Linked DNA regions of Homo sapiens: regions 1 and 3 are each linked to region 2. Evidence: promoter capture Hi-C in 16 types of primary human blood cells and fetal thymus (Javierre and others, 2016). All regions are on one chromosome and are shown on one strand. Each heading gives the region's core, a stretch centred on a gene start or on the middle of the fragment in contact. The rest is flanking DNA. Distances are from core to core; before and after follow the strand shown. Region 1 overlaps TSC22D2 (TSC22 domain family member 2). Region 2 holds the start of MBNL1 (muscleblind like splicing regulator 1). Region 3 overlaps MED12L (mediator complex subunit 12L).

What was found. Contacts are between HindIII fragments. The CHiCAGO score rates a contact against its expected background, and 5 or more counts as called.
Region 1: a fragment that was not itself captured here is called in contact with the fragment with the promoter of MBNL1 in region 2 in 1 of 17 cell types (naive B cells); the score reaches 6.5 in naive B cells.
Region 3: a contact is called between a fragment that was not itself captured here and the fragment with the promoter of MBNL1 in region 2, in 1 of 17 cell types (naive B cells). The highest score is 8.5, in naive B cells.

Annotation. Positions count from the first base shown.
Region 1 is chr3:150,416,619-150,419,318 of GRCh38, reverse strand. All of the region lies in intron 1 of TSC22D2 (TSC22 domain family member 2), which reads right to left. Among named protein-coding and RNA genes, the nearest start is that of TSC22D2, 9.7 kb to the right of the region's middle. The HindIII fragment of the contact is 1,663 bases long and covers 534-2,196 here.
Region 2 is chr3:152,267,649-152,270,348 of GRCh38, reverse strand. MBNL1 (muscleblind like splicing regulator 1) reads right to left here and starts at 1,420. Exons shown (of 10, transcript NM_021038.5): 1 at 1,257-1,420. MBNL1-AS1 (MBNL1 antisense RNA 1) reads left to right here and starts at 723. Exons shown (of 2, transcript NR_027038.1): 1 at 723-921; 2 at 1,277-2,700. RefSeq lists silencers at 973-1,082, 1,483-1,532, 1,583-1,642 and enhancers at 533-1,374, 1,833-1,932, 1,375-2,217. The HindIII fragment of the contact is 10,088 bases long and covers 1-2,700 here.
Region 3 is chr3:151,267,255-151,269,954 of GRCh38, reverse strand. All of the region lies in intron 16 of MED12L (mediator complex subunit 12L), which reads right to left. All of the region lies in intron 1 of P2RY14 (purinergic receptor P2Y14), which reads left to right. It also overlaps the pseudogene SETP11. Among named protein-coding and RNA genes, the nearest start is that of P2RY14, 9.9 kb to the left of the region's middle. RefSeq lists an enhancer at 1,038-1,107. The HindIII fragment of the contact is 157 bases long and covers 1,283-1,439 here.

The sequences.
Region 1 (2,700 bases), core at 116-2,615, 1.9 Mb after region 2:
CTTCTAACTCTGGGAATATTCAAAAGCACTGGCTTTAGGTTAAAGGTCTGAATATGAGTCTAGGCTTTGTCACCCAATACCTAGGTGACTCAAATTTTAAGAGTCTCAGTTTCCTTAATCCATAAGAAAGGGGGAAGGGAAGAAACCACTTTCTTACAAATTGTTGGAAAGATCAAATGAAAGTCTATATACATAGGACCTGACACAAGTAAGCTTGCTTTGTGTTTAATATAAGGTTAGTTTCCAAATTATGCTACCTATAAATCAAATTTTGGTAGAGTATCTCAACATGTACCAAATGTTCTGACATTATCAAGGTAATATTGAGGGAAACAGAATACTTAAACTTAGAGCCAGGGGTACCAAAATATTTAGCACATTTCATTAGGTAAGAATTCTGATTTTTGGGACTCAGCGCTCTGAAGGTATTCCCTTAACACAGCTTTATCATAAGATTATAATTTAAAATGCAATAATCACTAAAAGGATACTGAAATCGTTTCAAGATATATATTATTTTAACAATAAAAGCTTCCAGAAATACCTTTAACAGCAACTTACTATAAAAATCGAAATTTCTTACCATGACATTTAAAGTCCTTCACTCTGGTTCTTGTCAAATTAACAATACCATTTTCCAAATGATAGATTCTCACTCTTTCACATCATTATACAAACTGCCTTTTACCTCTGCTTGGAAAACTATCCCCTTCTCTTCTTAGTGACTTAATCTGAATGACCATTTTAAGATTTAGTTCAAGAGTTAGCCTCAAAAGAATGTACAAGTAATAATGGGTTACTTCTAAGGACAAACAGGGTGGCTGGAGGACAGAGGTAGCAGAGAGGCTTTCGATTTTACTCTTTTATATATTTTGAGTTTTGAACTATATAAATACCTATGCAGAGAATAATTTTTAAATAGAAGTCAGTCTACTACCCTCCCAATCCCAATCTGATCTGATGTCTCAAATTGTTCCCATTAGCACCTTATATTACTCCATCACCACCTCCAATGTATGTCAAAGTATACATCTGATCATCATTTTCATGATGATGAAAATGCCTGAGATCTAGGAGGGCAGCATAGTCTCATATTTGTATTCCAGTGCTCACTACTCACAGAGCATCATGAAAGCTGAATGACTGATAAGCTGTTTTAAATGTTTTCTTGGGCAATCAACCTACTTAATGAGTATTTACAAACTTCATTTATTGCCACACAATAGTCAAGTGGCAGGAAAGGGGTAAAAAGAAGAAAGTTTAAGTTTGCAGTTCTCTCATGAAGCACACTTGAATGTATGGTCTCATATACATAAGGCTAGAAGGAATCTTAAAATTTGACAAAGTCTCAAAAAAGAAAAACAGACAAGTGAAATGACTTGACCAAAGAAACCAGCTAAATGATAGAAGAGCCAGGACTGGAACACAATTCCCTATACTTCTTACAACATCATGACTCGTCTAGACTAAAACATCATCTCCTTTTTTCTGACTACATCCATACCATACAATTACGCTTTCATATTAAAATGGAAGATTCTTGGTATGATTTATAACATGTAAAGGGGTGATCTGGGAGAGCAGTTTGGACACTGAAATATTAACATTTCTGTGATACACGTTTGCCACATATATTATGTTACAGACTGTTCAAATTACTTGCACACATCATTTAATTCCTTAAAACTCTCCCAGGTAGGTACAATCCCCATTTTTCATAAGAGGAAACAAGGCATCTACACCAACTAGCTCAAAGTCAAATGTAGCAGTTAGATTTTAGCCCGGGTATGTCTGACTCTACTGTCTCTGTAATGGTCATTCACATATGTTAACACATAATTAAACACGCTATTGGTTTTATTTGATCAAAACAGCTCCTCCCTCCTTTGTTTTGTCTTCAAAGACTAGGTAGACGGTATGCCAAGCAAAGATTTGTTTTGCTTTAACATATAAAACCACTTGATAAAAACTAAATACTAACTCTACTTTAGAAACTAGAGGCTTTACACTTACCTTTGGGAATCCTTTATTCAGATTAAATTATATACTTGTGTAATAAGATGAACAGCCTAAAACTAACATTTAAAACTATGCCATCATTATTTACAATAATTGACACATTAATCACAAACTCCATCTTCTACAAAGCAATATTCTTTAGACAAATTTTAGGAAAGGCTTATGGGAAAAGAAGCTTTAAGTAATTTAACATTTAGACTTTACTTATTTGTCCTGCCTACCCTAATAATAGGTATATGTCCCAGGCAAACACTAATAAAATTAACTCAGTTACCTGCAGAACTTTCACTAACATCACAAATAAATGTACTACTTAAAAGGATGGAAGCACTTTTTCTTTTTAAACAAAAATTAGCTTGGGTACAAAGGAATCAAACTAAATACTAAATACTAATTATTTAAGTCTGATTTGAGGCTTTAAATTTGAGATAAGCAATCCAGATGAAATTTAATTCACCTGATTTAAGAGCAGAAATCATGCAATACTTTCATACAGGAAACAATCCATCAATATACCTTTAATATTATTAAACCAAATCTGAAGAGTATACCTCAAAGTATACTTCCTAAAGTCATGGAATAATGTATAGGAATGGTGCAAACTGGCTACTGTTCCTACCTTTTTATGAGGGACACCCAGTTTTTGCCCTAAGCAATGCCAGATTAAGAATATAACAAATA
Region 2 (2,700 bases), core at 171-2,670:
GAGGGCTCGAAAGTCTAAAAGCATTAATTATGACTTCTCTCCTAGCGTATTAATTTAAGAAACTCCTCAGAGTATATGGCAGAGTTTGCCATCCATCTGCTATGACTTGTGCCTGTGCTGGTGGGCACACAAAGTGAAGTCAGCGGCAACAACCTTTCCGGCAGCTTCTTAACTTTAATCCTGGGGAGACATACTCCACGGAAATACACCCCAGAATCCCAACAGCCGCATACTCTCCCGGCCCCAGAGAGCCTTAAGAATACAATATTACTCTGGCAGCAACACCCCTGTAGTTGTAAAGTGCTGTGCGAGGGGAAGGCATAAGCGCCACCATATACCTGCTCGTGTTACAGGCTCTGGAATCAAAGTATTCTCACATGACACATTACTACCAATAACAGATTCCGGCTCCGTTTAAAAAAAAAAAAAAAAGTTGGGGGGTGGCTACATATTTGTCCTGCTTTTGTCTAAAAACCAGAACCCAAGTACTAACTACTTTTCATTCTTTTCAACCTTTCATGAAAGCAATTCAACCAACTGCGGCTCCACCCAAAGAGCTTCTATACTTACTTTTCTTACAGTTTTTGAGTGACGCACTACAAAACGATGAAAAAAAAAAGAAGAAGAAGAAAAGGAGGAGGCAGCCCTCTCCTACAGGGCGTCTTCCGCCCTGTAAACTTGGCAAAAGGCAAACTGGCCTGAAATACAGCACTCTCCATATAAGGCAGCCCAGCTAAACATGTCATGCGTAATTTATGGGTAGCAAGCAGAGAATTAACCTTTGCGTGCACATATTTGGCCCAGATGAAAACCGGGCGGGATGGCAGCCCCGGGGCCAGGGATGCGGGAGCCGCCGGGAAGACCCGCGCGCCGCTCGACTCAGAGGGACTCACACCTTCCCCCGACAAAGGTCATTAAGTTGTGAGTACACTTGCACGCACCTGTTTCTCTTCTCGCCCCCCTGTTTCTCCCTGGGTCCCGCTGGGCTGCCAAGCCGTGCGCGGGCTGTGCCGTGACAGCGTCCGCAGAGCCCGCGGCAGGGAAGGGCGCAGGAGCGGCTGCGGCTCACCCTCCCGCCTTCCCCCGGGCAGGAGGTGCTGAGGGACGCGAAACCAACTACCGCGAGCGGCCCGCCCCTGCCCGGGAGAACCGCGGCCGGCGAGCACCTCCTCGCACTTCCTCCTTCAGCCACGGGCAGACCCGCCGGAGTCCGAACAATGAAGCGGCGCGGGGAAACTGTGAAAATGGAAACTTACCTCTCACATTTTTTTTTCAGAGGCGGCCCCACTGTCGACCAAGTGCCCAAGGCATTGTGGGAGTCATGATTCCAAGATGCCCGCGACGGAAAATGGAACTTGTCAGCTCCTTGTCATGGGAGCATTGTGGGCGCCACAACTCATTCAGCTGCAGTGAAAAGACTGTTGCATGTCGCTGTGCAGCCTCTTATCGCCGAGGTCTGGCTTCCGCTGCTGCTGCGCGGCCCCTCCCCCGCCCGCCCAGCCCCACCAGGAAGCCCAGGGCGGACTCGTCGAGCTCCTAATGCACGCGGCGGCGAGAAAAACGCTCTTCAACTTTCCGCCGGCGCCCTCCCGCGCTTCCCCGGGCCACAGGGTCGCCTGTCAACCGGACAGAGCCCGCAAGAGCGGGTCATGGGCGGTCGCCCAGCGGCGCCGAGAGCAGGAGGAAGCCGGAGCCCGCGCGGGCGCCGTGGATCCCCTCGGCCTCCCGTTGGTATCTTCCATCTCATGCGTTCAGCATTGTAACCTCGCGGCGGGCGTGCAGACCGGACGCCCTCCCGCTTCTTCTACCGACTGCTAGGCACACCAGTGGGTTCATTTTGAAAGAGGCCCTTGCACCGGGCTTTGCAAGGAAGCCGGCAAGGTTAGATTGAAGGTTAGAAGCCAATTAGACTAGAATCCTGCGATCTGGTGAGACTGCCGCCTTAAAATGCACCAAACAGTTTTTGAACCTGGAGGGCTAACAGGCGGGAAAAACATCTGCAAGACTGCCACCGTGTATTTTTCTCAAGTAACAGGCTATCCACAGTTTTGGAATTCCTTAGTGAAACTGTCACACAGGCACAAACACATGTCAGCTTTCCTTCTAGTTTGTAAATAATATTTGTAATTTACAGGCCACTGTATTCCCAACTTTGCACCATGTGATTTAGAGAAAGCAAAGCTCCCTCTTTAAAAATAATATGTTACTTCTGAAATACCGGGATATTCCACGGCAAGTAAGCCATATTGTCGCCAGAGCAAATAAACCGCAGCCCCATATCATAATTCACTGGGTGCTATAAGATGTAACTTGGCTTTGCTTTGAATGGAAAGAATCCTGAACGTCTGTGATGTGATGAAGTTTTGGAGACTGGGGGCAGGATTTCCTTTGAATGTAAGGAATTCGGATAACTTGTTCAAGGATGATTCTAGTGAAAAACGTTTGTCCCATGTTTGTTGGGACAAAAATGCTGGATATGGTACAACATTCTTCCTGCAGGTTCGGTTTTGTTGAAGAGAGTGAGGCCAGCTCGAGGTGAAGGAAAAACATCAGAAAGGTGCTAAAGTGCAGAAATATCTTCCAGAGGCACTAATAGCCGACTTTAGTTCTTGACCTTTAGCTAGATCCACAAAGCACTGAGTTAAAATTGTACACTGATCCCTTCCAGAACAAATTAATTAATTAAATGGTGCCTCTTCC
Region 3 (2,700 bases), core at 112-2,611, 1.0 Mb after region 2:
AAGTATTATCTTTGATGAACTCTCCCAACTCAACAACACCTGCATCAGAACGGTCAGTAAACCAGGTAAAGAAGCTCTCTGGTTCTTCGTGCTGCCTCTTCCTGCTGACTTTACTCTGCGTTTGACTGGAACGTTTTCATTATATCCTTTCCAGATTTGCATTTGACTTCAGTGGACTCTAAAAATAGATCACCACTCTCATTCAGATGAAATTCCTTGGAGAGAACTTTATTTTCAAACTAAAGATTTTCATCAAAATAAAAATCTTTCTGTAACCTGATTTAATACCTCCAAATTCTGTCACTTCAACTCGTCAAATAATACAGTGCCTCTTTGTCTTCCTCCCCAAGTAATGTAGACACTTGTGGATGGCTGACAAATGCTGTTACCCAAAAATTTGAAATTTGGGCAATCAATTTTGACCTCTTCCAAAAAATGGTTGGCAGAATTTGTTATACTTCTGTTCTGCTTTCACAATCTCCCCACTGGCTTGTTCATTAAGTCTCTGAATTTTGTGTGTGTGTGTGTGTGTGTGTGTGTGTGTGTGTGTGTGTGTGATGGAGTTTCACTCTTGTTGCCCAGGCTGGAGTGCAATGGCACGATCTCAGGTCACTGCAACCTCCACCTCCCAGGTTCTAGTGATTCTCCTGCCTCAGCCTCCCAAGTAGCTGGGATTACAGGCATGCACCACCACACCTGGCTAATTTTGTATTTTTAGTAGAGATGGGGTTTCTGCATGTTGGTCAGGCTGGTCTCGAACTCCCGACCTCAGGTGATCCACCCACCTTGGCCTCCCAGAGTATAGGCATAAGCCACCGCGCCCAGCCTGTATTTCCTTTTGTACGTCGTCAATATATTCAATTGCTTCTTTCTGTTCTTTTTCTCCCTTCTTCAGCAAGCCCAGAGAGGCCAATGTCTCCTCCGGTCTCAGAGCAGGAAGTAGTCTTGGTTTTGGGGGTCACACCGCTAGGAAAGTTCAAGAACCAGACCACAATTCTTCTTTCTCGTCAGGAAGACGCTCAGAAAACTTAATTTTTTTTGTTTTGTGGCTAAAAAATTTTGCATACTAAAACCAACCGAAGGTTGGGAAGGTATTTTACATTTTCCTCTAGAAGCTTTGTGGTCTTAGTTTTACCTTTAGGTCTATGATACATCTTAAATTGCTTCCTTGATTCCTCCATTTCATCTGTTAGTAGCTCTCTGCAGAGAACAAGTGCTTTGTAAACACTGCTGACTCACTTATAAATGCCCTATAGGTTAGAAGAAATGTGTTTTCAAAGCTTACTAAAGGCTCTATGCTCAGCCTCAGTAACATTCTAGATTTAAAAAACCACTAATGGGAATGAACTCACAAATTAGACAAAATTTGAAACAAATTAGGCAAAATTTGACAAAATGTCTAACTCACAAATTAGACAAAATGGAGAAACCTGGAAGCTTCCATTTAGAACTCATGTTATGGTTCTGCCTAGGACATGCCTTGACTAGGGCAGGGATAATCCAGTTTCATTTCTGTACAAATAGCAGTTTAACTCAGCACAGAAAATGGAGAGCAGTATGCTCACCATATTTTCTTCCTCTTTGTATATATGTTAGAAAATTACCATGTCATTAGCATAGACTGAATTCTTTTTAACAAATTAGGCCATAAAACAGTAATTCACAGCAGCTCTGTTGAAAACTGACTTATATATATATATAAGTAATAAATGTTACAAGATATTACTCTCAAGAGACATTTTCTATACCCTAAAACACTGGCATTATTTTATAGGATTTAGGTAGCTTTAAAAAATGTTTTATTAATGCTTTGTATTGAAAACATGTAAGCTGAAAACATAAAAAGAAGTATTCCCACTGTTTAAAGACTACCACCGATGCATATTAAAACAGAGCATTTCCAGCTATTTCCTTGAGACTTTACTAAGAACGCATAAGACTAAAAAGAGCAAAAATTACCCTTGTCCATTTTACTGGCATTTGGAGAAATTCATAAATTAGGATAATAGCGCATTTCTTAAGTACTTAGCAACTGATAAAATACTCTACGTACAAAGAAATTTTAAAAAGCTATTCTCAAACACTGTATTTTGACAGCTGTTTCCTTGATATTATTCAGCCAAAACATGCTCCATGTTTTAGCAAGGTTCCTTTCTTATTACTCTGCCTTAGTGCCTAAGTTTCTACACCACAATTAGGCAATTCTTTTTAATGAATTAGGCCATAAAACAGTAATTCACAGCAGCTCTGTTGAAAACTGACTTATATATATAAGTAATACATGTTACAAGATATTACTCTCAAGAGACATTTTCTATAGCCTGAAACACTGGCATTATTTTATAGGATTTAGGTGGCTTTAAAAAAATGTTTTAAATTCATAGGAAAACTATTTACATCTAAGCAAGGACCGAGGCTCTCATTTGTAGCTTGCACTTTTCTGTTTTTAACAATTACCCAGATTCACAAGCTAACATTTCAGGGATAATCAATAGTGGCTTAGAATTTAGGGTGAAAAAAGAGAAAGTAACATATAACCTTGATATTGTTTCTTTCTAAAAAGAAAAGGGGATTTGTGATTAGCTACTTAAATTTGATTACATTATACACTTAAATTCCTTTTCTCATGAAGTATTTCAATGACTACCATTTCCTTAATAGCACTTCATTATTGTTATGCCTTTCTAAATGACAATGTAC